2 separate regions of the Homo sapiens genome follow, and region 2 is linked to region 1. Evidence: promoter capture Hi-C in 16 types of primary human blood cells and fetal thymus (Javierre and others, 2016). All regions are on one chromosome and are shown on one strand. The core of a region is centred on a gene start or on the middle of the fragment in contact, and the rest is flanking DNA. Distances in the headings are between cores, read along the strand shown. Region 1 holds the start of AGRP (agouti related neuropeptide). Region 2 holds the start of CARMIL2 (capping protein regulator and myosin 1 linker 2).

The links. The method cuts DNA at HindIII sites, captures the fragments that hold promoters and counts their contacts. A CHiCAGO score of 5 or more calls a contact.
Region 2: the fragment with the promoter of CARMIL2 here is called in contact with the fragment with the promoter of AGRP in region 1 in 8 of 17 cell types (total B cells, naive B cells, endothelial precursors and 5 more); the score reaches 9.5 in total B cells.

Annotation. Positions count from the first base shown.
Region 1 is chr16:67,482,209-67,488,197 of GRCh38, reverse strand. It overlaps AGRP (agouti related neuropeptide), which reads left to right and starts at 4,651. Exons shown (of 4, transcript NM_001138.2): 1 at 4,651-4,681; 2 at 4,797-4,929; 3 at 5,088-5,173; 4 at 5,380-5,627. The coding sequence starts at 4,800. The coding sequence ends at 5,562. It overlaps ATP6V0D1-DT (ATP6V0D1 divergent transcript), which reads right to left. Exons shown (of 4, transcript NR_184227.1): 2 at 3,870-4,088. The HindIII fragment of the contact is 2,406 bases long and covers 4,339-5,989 here.
Region 2 is chr16:67,640,132-67,646,698 of GRCh38, reverse strand. It overlaps CARMIL2 (capping protein regulator and myosin 1 linker 2), which reads right to left and starts at 1,555. Exons shown (of 38, transcript NM_001013838.3): 1 at 1,413-1,555; 2 at 1,068-1,159; 3 at 922-975; 4 at 619-681; 5 at 389-513; 6 at 182-273. The coding sequence starts at 1,452. RefSeq lists a silencer at 1,472-1,861. The HindIII fragment of the contact is 10,344 bases long and covers 1-6,465 here.

The DNA.
Region 1 (5,989 bases), core at 3,402-5,901:
ACCTTTCCAACACCTCACATGTTTTCCTCATTTCCCCCCTCAGTCAATAATTTCCCACCCTCCCAGAGTTAACCGCTGTTGTGTTTTATCACCATTTATTATAATTTTGCTTGGGTCTGAATGTCATAGGGCTGGATTCATTCCATCCTCACTCTTCTGCAGCATGCTTCTTTCATTCAACCTTATGTCTGTGCAATTCATTCATGTTGCAGTGTGTAGCAGTAGTTTATTCTCTTGTCATTGCTGTATAGTTGTCAATTATATAAACATACTTTTGTTTGTTTGTTTGAGATAGGGTCTCACTCTGTCACCCATGCTGGAGTGCAGTGGTGCAATCTTGGTTCACTGCAACCTCTGCCTCCTGGATTCAAGTGATCCTCCCACCTCAGCCTCTCGAGAAGCTGGGACTACAGGCTTGCGCCACCATGTCTAGCTAATTTTTGTAATTTTTGAAGAGACAGGGTTTTGTCATGTTGCTCAGGCTGGTCTGGAACTCCTGAGCTCAAGTGATCCACTCGTCTCGGCCTTCCAAAGTGCCAGGATTACAGGTGTGAGCCACTGTGCCTGGCCCAATTATATCACTATAATGTTATTATCCATTTTGCTGTTGATGGATATTTGGATTGTTTCCAGTTTTCTTTCTTTTTTAAAATTTTTTATTTTTTTAAGACAAGGTCTCATGTGCATAAGCTGGAATGCAGTAGTGTGATCATGGCTCACTACAGCTTTAACCTCCTGGGATCAAGCGATCCTCCCCACCTCAGCCTCTGGAGTCACTGGGACCACTGATGTGCACCACTGTGTCTGGCTATTTTTAAATTTTTTTGTAGAGATTGGGTCTCTGTATGTTACCCAGGCTGGTCTCAAACTCCTGGGCTCAAGACAGTCTCCCACCTCGGCTTCCCAAAGTGGTGGGATTACAGGCATGAGCCACGGCACCAACTTTCTCTATCTTTTTGTTTTATTCCAACCCTCAAAGGATTGGATGATTCTGGAAACACCCTCACAGGCACACCTAGAAATAATATTTAACCAGATATCTGGGCATTCCTGGCCCAGTCAAGTTGACACACAAAATTAACAATCACAGATCCTCTCTAGCTCAGGGCTCAATACACCAGCCCGAGAGAACCCCCATCCATCTTCTCCTCTCCCTGAATGACTGAGGAGACCGTGCCTCTCCAGGCAACCTCTGCCTTAGGAAATCCTACAGATGATTCACAGGAAACACATGGCTGTGCTCTCTGGGGCAGGGGCAATGGGCTGGGTAGGGGTTTCAAAATCAACCCTGATTGACAGAGCCACGGGTGCTTGCAGTTTTTCCCTGCACCCCCCACCCTCTCCCCTGGACAAGGTGGGAACAGGGCCCTTGAAGGGGAGTACACTGCAGGAGGAAAAAGAAGAGAAGGGAGAGGGTTTGAGCACCCCTCTCTGTCCTCATGTGGTCTCTGGAACGAGCATGCACACTCTCCCCTTTCTCCTCCCTGCACAGAGTCCCTGTGTTCCGGGCCCACACCCTCACTTAGGAGGCTCTGCCTCCCCCAGGGTTTCCCAAATCCTCCTCCCAGAACATGCCACATATTTCTGAAGGTCCTTTTGCCAACAAGCATTGTCCTGGGAATATCAGGCTGGTTCCTTACCGTAAAATTACCCACATAGTGAAACTTTTTTTTTTTTGAGATGGAGTCTCACTCTGTTACCAGGCTGGAGTGTTACCAGGCTGGAGTGCAGTGGCACGATCTCAGCTAACTGCAACCTCCGCCTCCTGGGTCCCAGTTCAAGTAAATCTCCTGCCTCAGCCTCCCAAGTATCTAGGATCATAGGTGCGTGCCACCATGCCCAGCTAATTTTTGTATTTTTAGTAGAGATGGGGCTTCACCATGTTGGCCAGGCTGGTCTTGAACTCCTGACCTCATGATCTGCCCACCTTGGCCTCCCAAAATGCTGGGATTACAGGCGTGAGCCACTGCATCCGGCTGTGAAACTTTTTTTTTTTTTTTTGAGAGAGTCTCGCTCAGTCACCCAGGCTGGAGTGCAGTGGCGCGATCTCGGCTCACCGCAAGCTCTGCCTCCTGGGTTCACACCATTCTCCTGCCTCAGCCTCCCAAGTAGCTGTGATTACAGGTGCCCGCTATGACGCCCGGCTAAATTTTTTTTTTTTTTGTATTTTTAGTAGAGATGGGGTTTTGCTGTGCTAGGCAGGATAGTCTCCATCTCCTGACCTTGTGATCTGCCCACCTCGGCCTCCCAAAGTGCTGGGATTACAGGCGTGAGCCACCGCACCTGGCCTTTTTTTTTTTTTTTTTTAATGGGGACTGGGTTTCGCCATGTTGCCCAGGCTGGCCTCGAATTCCTAGGCTCAAGTGATCTGCCTGCCTCAGCCTCCCAAAGTGCTGGGATTATAGGCGTGAGCCACCACCACCATGGCTCACTGCAGCCTCAATCTCCTGGGCCGAAGCTATCCTCCTCCCTGTCTCCTGAGTAGCTGGGACTACAGGTGTGCATCACCACATTCAGCTAATTAAATTTTTTTTTTTTGGTAGAGACAGAGTCTCACTATGTTGCCACTCCTGGGCTCAAGAAGGTGTGAATCACTACACCTGGCCGTTTTTTTTTTTTTGTTTAGTTTTGTTTTTGTTTTTTGAGACGGCAACTTGCTTTGTCGCCCAGGCTGGAGTGCAGTAGCGCGATCACAGCTCATTGCATTTTGGCGCTGGGTTTTCTTGATATCTCCCCCACTGGACCTGACCGGGGCATGGGCTGCCCTGTGAGTGCCTCAGCCCTCGTCCATCACTGCCCATGGGGCTGATACACCTGTGTGCACACACTCAGGTGAAGACAGCTGCTGCCCGTAGGTGAGGTAAGACACTGAGCACCTGTGTGGGAGGAGATCTTCCACTCCCACTCTGTCCACACCAGACCATGAAGAGCTCTCCATAGCATGGGTGCTGACCAGGCCCAGCCTGGGTGACAGAGTGAGACCCTGACTCAAAGAAAAAGACATAATGAGGTGTGATTTTAATTTCTTGGATGTCCCAGTATATATAAATGTTGGGAGTATGGATTGCTTCATTTCATTTTAAATAGCATTTTTTTTTTAAGATGGAGTCTCACTCTGTCACCCAGGTTGGAGTGCAGTGGTGCGATCTCTGCTCACTGCAGTCTCTGCCTCCCGTGTTACAAGTGATTCTCCTGCCTCAGCCTCCCGGGTAGGTGGGATTACAGGCATGTGCCACCATGCCTGAATAACTTTTGTATTTTTAGTAGAGATAGGGTTTCACCATATTGGCCAAGCTGGTTTGAACTCCTGACCTCCAGTGATCCGCCCACCTTGGCCTCCCAAAATGCTGGGATTACAGGCGTGAGCCACCGTGCCTGGCCACCCTTTATCTTCTTTTCTTTTTGAGACAGGATCTTGCTCTGTCGCTCAGCCTGGAGTGTGGTGATGCAGTCATAGCTCACTGCACTCTTGAATCCCTGTGCTCAAGCCATCCTCCCACCTCAGCCTCTACTACAGGCATGCACCACTACACCCAGCTATTTTTTTATTTTTTGTAGCAACGGGGTCTCACCATGATACCCAGGCTGGTCTTAAACCCCTGGCCTTGTGATCCTCCCACCTTGGCCTCTCAAAATGCTGGAATTACAGGTGTGAGCCACCATACCTGGCCCCCTTCATCTTTTTTCCACTGCCTTGTGCCAACCCAGTTTGTGCACTGGGGCCTTGCGATCCTCTCAAAGCTGATTCAGCCTGCATTCCTTTCCCAGATGGACACGTGTGTGATAAACAGCTCTGCAGTGGGGTGAGGGAAGGCAGGGGCAGCAGGGTCCTGTATGTCCTGCCATCTCCACAAAAGGGCAGTCCTTACCCCAGCCTTGTGCTGATGAGACCAGGCATAGACAGTCCTGACGACACAGGGCGGAAGGGAGCAGCCATTAGTGCTAATGAGGCAGGCGGCCTGAAAGCTTTGTACTCTGCAGTGGCTCGCCCACCCAGGGAACAGTTCGTTCTGTTTCCTTGGCTTCCAGGAACCCTAGGCAGAAAGGGGTTTGGGGACAGGAGCAGGAGTGGGCGGTCTTGGAGAAACCTGGAGGGAGAAAGGGAGGGGAGGACCAGAAATGTAGTCAGGAGGGCCTAGGATTGGTTAGGTGGGCTTTTCCTTCCCCTTTCCCTCCAAAGAAACCCAGGTTCTGGTTCTGCACCTACCCCTGCCCAACAGTGGCCATTGGCCCATCACCCGCTCCAATGTCCTTGACCCGAATTCTTGGAAGCACAGGAAACAACATGCCACATAGGGGTTGAGTAAGCATCTCTGGGGCCACAAATTAAATTAAGCTTTCAGGGCCGCCTGCCTTGTTATTGCTAATGGTTCTAGCCCTGCTCAGCTCCTAGGTCCCTGTCCTGTGGAAATTTGTGGACCCTGGGCACCCTCTCTTGCTCCCAAATTTTAATCGGCTCCTGGAAACCTCACCCCAAATTGGAGATAGGCACTCCTCTTGTAGAACAAAAGGCTCAGGTTCAGGGAGTGAGGGCCTGAACTGTGCCCCCACCCTCCAGGAAGGGTCCTTCACGGCCTGGCTGCAGGGATCAGTCACGTGTGGCCCTTCATTAGGCCCTGCCATATAAGCCAAGGGCACGGGGTGGCCGGGAACTCTCTAGGCAAGAATCCCGGAGGCAGAGGTGAGTCCTCAGGTTGGGCAGGGACTCCTCCTCTCTGTGGGGTCTCTATCTGGGCACCTAGAGGGGACTCCAAGGATAAGGAGGGACTAAGTGGTACATCTTCCTGCTGAGCCAGGCCATGCTGACCGCAGCGGTGCTGAGCTGTGCCCTGCTGCTGGCACTGCCTGCCACGCGAGGAGCCCAGATGGGCTTGGCCCCCATGGAGGGCATCAGAAGGCCTGACCAGGCCCTGCTCCCAGAGCTCCCAGGTCAGTGTGAGCAAGGGTGGGACTGGGCGGGGCCTGAATACCCTCTGGCCACAAATAGTCTCCCCTGGCATAAACCCTCTTTCTCCCTTCCCAAACCCTCCCCTGGGAGGTGGGTGCTTTGTGCATGGGGGTTCCTGCCCTCACATCCTCTGCCCCAGGCCTGGGCCTGCGGGCCCCACTGAAGAAGACAACTGCAGAACAGGCAGAAGAGGATCTGTTGCAGGAGGCTCAGGCCTTGGCAGAGGTAACTGCTCAGGGAAAAGGGTAAGGTGGTGGCCCTTGGGAGGGGGCATTGGGTATTAGCTCCTCTCCCCAGCTCCAAACTCCCTCACCAGCGACGACACTACCGACCACCCCTTCCCATGCTCCACTGCCATCCTGCACAGGTTGGGACAGGTAAGATCCCTGGATCTGTCTTTAGAGGCCTGTGCTGGTTCCCCACCCCTGCAGGTACTAGACCTGCAGGACCGCGAGCCCCGCTCCTCACGTCGCTGCGTAAGGCTGCATGAGTCCTGCCTGGGACAGCAGGTGCCTTGCTGTGACCCATGTGCCACGTGCTACTGCCGCTTCTTCAATGCCTTCTGCTACTGCCGCAAGCTGGGTACTGCCATGAATCCCTGCAGCCGCACCTAGCTGGCCAACGTCAGGGTCGGGGCTAGGGTAGGGGCAAGGAAACTCGAATAAAGGATGGGACCAACCCCAAGGCTGTGGTTATTTCAAACGTGGCCGTCAAAGGAGGGAGGGTTCATGGAGGGGGTGGGAGTGTCACCAAGCCAAGAAACCACACATACTCTTATCCCAGGGCCTGGGCTACCCTATCATAGGAGGCACATACACGGGCGCTTTTAGGGGTCCTGGTGCCCCTGGGAAAAATAGAGAAGAGCCGCACTCCAGCTTTCGAAAATCTTGTACAGCAAGTGCGGGGAACGCAGGACGCAGCGTGGCACAGGGGCTATCACTCCTGGCTAACAAATAAGCCTTAGGCTCCAGGGCTTGCTGCTACTTCCACGCAAAGCCTGCCCCTCATCCTGTTACCAGAGGGAAGGCCAGGAGTGTGCGT
Region 2 (6,567 bases), core at 306-2,805, 160 kb before region 1:
GGGTGCGATGTGGAAAAGGAGAGAGACAAAACATCAGCGATGGAGGAAGACCAGACCCACAGACTAGGTGGTGGCTGGGACCTGAATGGCTCTGTTCAGTTTGGGGCCCCCCCAGCTTGCGGGTCTGGGGAGGCAGAGGTGGGGCAGGCTGGAAGGCCTGTGGCTCTGCCTTCACCCTTACCACAGGGGCTGCAGGGGTCAGTGGACTCCGAGGGGCTGCTTCTCTCCAGCCGAGCCAGCATGGAGGCTGGTGTGGGCCTCCGGAATAGCTTCCTGGTAGGGGGTTAAGGAGAAGGGGGCAAAGGACTTCCAGCCTCTGGGATGGGAAGCAGCCCTTCTCATGCACTCCCTCCTCCCCTGCCAGCCCCTCGAATTTGCCAGGCCTCACCCAAGGGTCGAGCGAGGGAAGACCTTCTTGATGGCTGCAGCCACGTGCTGGGCCAGCTGTTCCAGGGCGGCCACACCAGGAAACTCCAGGACCAGCTCACGCAGGGACTCCAGCTCAAAGGTGACCTAGGGAAGGGGCACTACTAGGCCTCGGCTCCACACATGGGCGCAGGTGATGGTGGTAGCATGAAGACCAGGCTGCAGGCCCAGGTAGGGTACTAGGTGTCTCACCTGAGGGGGTGTCTCCTGCAGCGCCATGGCCTGGACCTCCAGGTAGCTGAACGTGCAGTCCACCTAGAAAGGGCCTAGATCAGCTGGGACCAAGCCCCCAGCCCCGCCCTCATGGAAGTCCAGTCCTTTGGGCAGCCTGGGGCAGAGCCAGATCTGCCTGGACTCCCCTCCTGTCGGCTGCCCAGAGCCCAGTGCTGGTGCAAAGTCAGGGCCCACAAGGCCAAGAAGGACCACTCTGCAGATGCAGCCCCCTGCCAAGGTAGCTGCTGGCGGGCGGGGGTGTGGCCAGGCCCTGGGACTCACCCTCAGCGGGAGGCAGGTGGTGTGCAGCAGGTAGGCTCTCCATCGTAGCAGTGCCTGGGGAAAGACAGTCTGATATCCTGGGCAGAGCAAGAGGCTCTTTCTGTGGGGCCACAGCCGCCTCCCCGGCTCTGTCCCCTGCCCCATACCAGGACATGGTTTTGCACAGCACCCTCCCCGGGTAGCCAGGTTTTCAGCAGCAGCTCCACCTCTTTGGGCCACAGGAACCTGGTGATCTCGCCTGTGGAAGGGCAGCCTGCTGGGTGACTTCAGTCCTTGCACAGAAGCCACTGGTGCCCACAGTCTGTGCCAGGCTGGGGCCCTGGGGCTTATCTGCGGCCAGCGAGGAAGGAGGGGAGAGGATCTGGGGCGCCTGCCCTCCTGGGGAGCAGGGAGGACCTCTGACCAGGCCCTCTGGGGCGCTGGGTGGGCCTCTGATTTTGGGGCTGCACTACTTCCTCCCGGCCAAGAAGGCAGGAAGGGCCAGCGCTTACCTCGGAGCTCACAGGAGATGCCGTCGGGGGTCTGGGCCATGGGCCGGGCGGGCCGGGGAGGCCCAACGAGCTCCGGCGGGAAACAGCAGAGGACGAGCGCGCACACAGGAAGCCTGGGGCCCAGACCCGCACGGCAGCCACCTGCTCCTCCGGCGGCGGAAGGTGCGCGCCGCTTCCTGCCAGGCCGCCCCCGGCCCGGCCCCTCCCCGCCCCGGCCTCGCGGCTCGAGAGCTTGCCCGGGAGCGGGGTTGTGGGAGGGGGGCCGAGTCCCACCTGCCCGCCCGCCCCGTCGCCCAGGAGCTTCTCCGCCAGGGTAGACGTCGGGGTGGGCAGTGGCGTGGCCGGGAGGGTCGCGGGTGTGGCGGGCCTCCAGCGGGTCCTTGCCCCCGGCTTCCACCCCGCCCCGCAGTCCCTGCCGCGAACACCAGGGGACGCTGCCTGCCTGGGGATCCCCGCGGCCCACCGGGGCTGGTCCCCTCCAAAGCCCAGGCTGCGGAGGTGGACGAGGCGCCTGGCAGAAGGGGGACTGTTCAGCAAGGAGCGCCCGAATTCTGCCAACACCGGAGGTCCTGCCCGTTGCTCCGAACCTGGAGTCCGTGACCCTGTTAGGGATCCAAGAGATTTTGAATGGGTGGGAAAAAATGTCAGATGGGGCCAGGCGCGGTGGCTCACGCCTGTAATCCCAGCACTTTGGAAGGCCGAGGAAGGAGGAACGCTTGAGCCAAAGAGTTCGAGACCAAGCTGGGCAACATAGGGAGACCCTGTCTCTGCAAAATAATTTACAAAATTAGACGGCGTGATGGCGTGTGTCTGTAATCCTAGCTACTTGGGAGGCTGAGGTGGGAGGATCACTTGAGCTTGGGAGGCAGAGTTTGCAGTGAGCGGAGATCGCACCACTGTACTCCAGCCTGGGTGACAAAGCCAGGTCCTGTCTAAAAAAAAAAAAAAAAAACAGCCTGATGGGTCCAGACGCCCTTCCTTGCCGCAGAGGTGGGGTCAGGGCCGAAGGTGAGGGTGTACCCGGAGCCTTCGGGGGGAAGCCTGGGGCTAAGGTGAGCCCTGAACCCCAAGCACTTCATAGAGGGCCGGAGTGAGTCGTCCAGGTACATGAGGGTCTTCTTGTGTCTGCCTTCTCCCCAGGCTGGAGAGAGTTTGGGAGGGGGCAGCCAGAGAGAGAGAAATAAGCCAGTGTCTCCAGGGCTGAGAGGGGTCAGACAGTCATAGGGTGGGGCCTGGTAGCCTGTTGCCCTCTCAAAGACCAGGACCTAGATTCTGGAAAGTTCACAGGAAGAGACTGCATTTTTTTTCTTCTATTACAATCTAAACTCCACTTAAGCGGTAAGGAACAGCAGTCTACCCTGCCCATAGCTCAGCAAGGTGGAGGTGAAATGACAGCTAAGGGTGACAAGGAGGAGTCAGCTGCAGAAGATGCAGCACAGAGAGTTCCTGCTGCCTCCCCGATTGAAGAGACATACTTGGTTTGTTTGTTGGTTTTGAGATAGAGTCTTGCTCTGTGGTCCAGGCTGGAGTGCAGTGGCACAATCTTGGCTCACTGCAGCCTCCGCCTCCCAGGTTCCAGCAATTCTCCTGCCTCAGTCTCCCGAGTAGCTGGGATTACAGGTGCCCACCACCATGCCTGGGCTAATTATTATTATTATTATTATCATTATTATTATTATTATTTTAGACAGAGCTTCGCTCTTGTTGCCCAGGCTGGAGTGCAGTAGGGCGATCTTGGTTCACTGCAGCCTCCGCCTCCCAGGTTCCAGCAATTCTCCTGCCTCAGTCTCCCGAGTAGCTGGGATTACAGGTGCCCACCACCATGCCTGGGCTAATTATTATTATTATTATTATCATTATTATTATTATTATTTTAGACAGAGCTTCGCTCTTGTTGCCCAGGCTGGAGTGCAGTAGGGCGATCTTGGTTCACTGCAACCTCTGCCTCCTGGGTTCAAGCAATTCTTCTGCCTCAGCCTCCCAAGTAGCTGGGATTACAGGCATGTGCCACCACACCCAGGGAATTTTTATGTTTTTAGTAGAGACGGGGTTTCACCATGTTTGTCAGGCTGGTCTCCAACTCCTGACCTCAGGTGATCTGCCCACCTCGGCCTCCCAAAGTGCTGGGATTACAGGCGTGAGACACCATGCCTGGCCACGAAGAGACATAATTTGGATTAAGATCTAAGGCTCTAAGACCACACAGAACCCTCAAACTGCTTGTAGGGTGACAATTCAGTAGGTCTCACACAGTACTGCCAAGGAACCAAGAATGCAGGTTCTGGCCAGGTGTAGTGGCTCATGCCTATAATCCCAGCATTTTGGGAGGCCGAGGTGGATCGCCTGAGCTCAGGAGTTCGAGACCAACCTGGCCAACATGGTGAAACCTTGTCTCTACTAAAATACAAAAAGTTAGCCAAGCGTGGTGGTGGGCACCTGTAGTCCCAGCTACTGGGGAGGCTGAGGCATGAGCATTGCTTGAGCCCAGGAGGCAGAGGTTGCAGTGAACCAAGATCTCACCACTGTACTCCAGCCTGGGCGACAGAGCAAGACTCCGTCTCAAAAAAAAAAAAAAGCAGGTTCTGCAGGCACACTGCCTAGATTTTGACACTGAACACATTGCTTAGCCTTTCTGGTCTTCCAGTTTTGTTTGTAAGCCGGAGCTATTAACTAACCTCAAGCCTTGCTCAAAGGATTCAATGTTTATTAAGGGAAGTGCCCGCAACAGTGCCTGGCACTCAGATAACACTCACATTTGCCAAGTCTACCATGACAACCCAGGGATTCCAAAACAGAATGGCAGAAAATCCACCTCACTGGGATTTTTCTGTTTAGAATGACAAGGAGGAGAGAGAAATGAGAGTGACTGCCAAAAGGGCTGGAGCCATGCCCAGGTGGAGGGCCTCTGGAGGCTGCAGCGATGCCAGTGGGGCCAGTCCCTGTGTGTGTGAGCACATGGGGGCAGGCAGGGACAACTAAGAGATCTGGACAGGCTTGCAGGGCTAGCCACGTGGCTGATGGTGGTCAGGGAGGTAGTAACACAGCAAACCTGATCTCAGAGACCAAGTGAACACATGGGACTCGGTTCTTACAAGTGACAGTGACTCAGTGAGAAGCTGTCAGCTTGTTCAAGCCCGTCTGTGTTCTGGATGGCATGCCACTCCATGGGCATTCAGGAAATGTCAAAGCTCCCGAGAGCATCAGCCTCGCCTGCTCTGGGTAGCACAGGCTGAGGGCGAGACTTGCCTCCCAGGTGGGCCGGGCTATGCCCCCTTGGTGCTGCCATAAGGCTCACCACAGATGATTTTCAAAGACCAGGTCCTGACAAGTCAGAGAAGGGTTCAGGTACTTGCTGAGCTGGGCAGCAATAGGGTGATGCCAGCCTAGGGGTGAAAGGGGCAAAGGTTCTTTACTTCTGTGGCTTAACACTGAGGGAGCTGCATGCAGGTTCAGGAACTTCCCTGTCAACAGAAGCAGTAACACAACTGGCTTCTGCTGCTGAATGTTTTATAATTAAGGGACAGACAGGATGCATCCTGGGCTATGCAGCAGGAGGATCCCTTTTCAGCCTTAACTCCATCAGGATGTCAATTCTCTTGCCCCCTCTCCAGCTAAAACAAATCCACTTTTAAACTTTTTTTTTTTGAGACGGAGTCTCGCTGTCACCCAGGCTGGAGTGCAGTGGCGCAATCTTGGCTCACTGCAACCTCCGCCTCCCGGGTTCAAGCAATTCTCCTGCCTCAGCCTCCCAAGTAGCTGGGAGGCTACTTTTAAACTTTTAAACTTTCTAACAGAGGGCCGGGCATGGTGGTGCACGCCTGTAATCCCAGCACTTTGGGTGGCCGAGGCGGGCGGATCATGAGGTCAGGAGATTGAGACCATCCTGGCCAACATGGTGAAACTCCGTCTCTATTAAAATACAATTAGCCAGGTGTGGTGGTGCGTGCCTGTATTCCCAGCTACTGGGGAGGCTGAGGCAGGAGAATTGCTTGAAACTGGGAGGCAGAGGTTGCAGTGAGCCGAGATCACGCCACTGCACTCCAGCCTGGCAACAGACCGAGACTCCATCTCAAAACAAACAAACAAGCAAACAAACAAACAAAAACCTTTCAAACAGAATGTATACAATCAGGAATGACAGGCTGTGTTGAATGAAGATACAGAAAAACTGAGCCTCATTGTTCTGCAAAGAGGTTATATATGCTTAGGTGGCTGGGAATGGTGGTTCATGCCTATAATCCAGCACTTTTGGAGGCTGAGGCAGGAAGATCACTTCAGTCCAGGAGTTTGAGACTAGCCTGGGCAACATAGCAAGATCCTATCTCTAAAAAAAAAAAAAAAAAAAAAAACCCTAAAAAAACAAAAAAAACAAAAATGAGCCAGGTGTGATGGCATGGCCCATAGTCCCAGCTATCCAGGAGGCTGAGGTAGGAGGATTGCTTGAGCCTAGTTCAAGGTCACAGTGAGCTGATTGTGCCACCACATCCCAGCCTAGGTGACAGAGTGAGACCCTGTCTCAAAAAAAACTTGGAATTAAAAAAAAGTTGGGGCCGGGTGTGGTGGCTCATGCCTGTAATCCTAGAACTTTGGGAGGCCGAGGCGGGCAGATCACCTGAGGTCAGGAGTTCCAGACCAGCCTGGTCAACATGGTGAAACCCCATCTCTACTAAAAATACAAAAATTAGCAAGGTGTGGTGGTGGGTGCCTGTAATCCCAGCTTCTCAGGAGGCTGAGGCAGGAGAATCCCTTGAACCCGAGGTGGAGGTTGAAGTGATCCAAGATTGTGCCACTGCACTCCAGCTTGGGTGACAGAGCGAGACTCCGTCTCAAAAAAAAAAAAGAAAAAAAGAAAAAAAGTTTTGGCTGGCTGGTAGGGGGTACCCTGGCGGGTAAACCCGTGGATGGGATAGAGAACTCAAGCTCCAACAGCCTGAGACCACTAACTTTCAGACCAACGAGTTAACTGCCTGGCTGAGTCCCGAGGCCCCAGGAGGCCCTGGGTCGTTTTCCTGGGAGACCCATCTGTGTGGACAGCACTAGCCAGCTAAAAGCTTCACACATTTTGCTCTGTTACTTCTAATTGACAACTCCTAAGTTGGAATTTAGGTTAAAAAACTCAAGTGGTTTAAGCTTTCACCTCAAGTGGGTTTGCCAA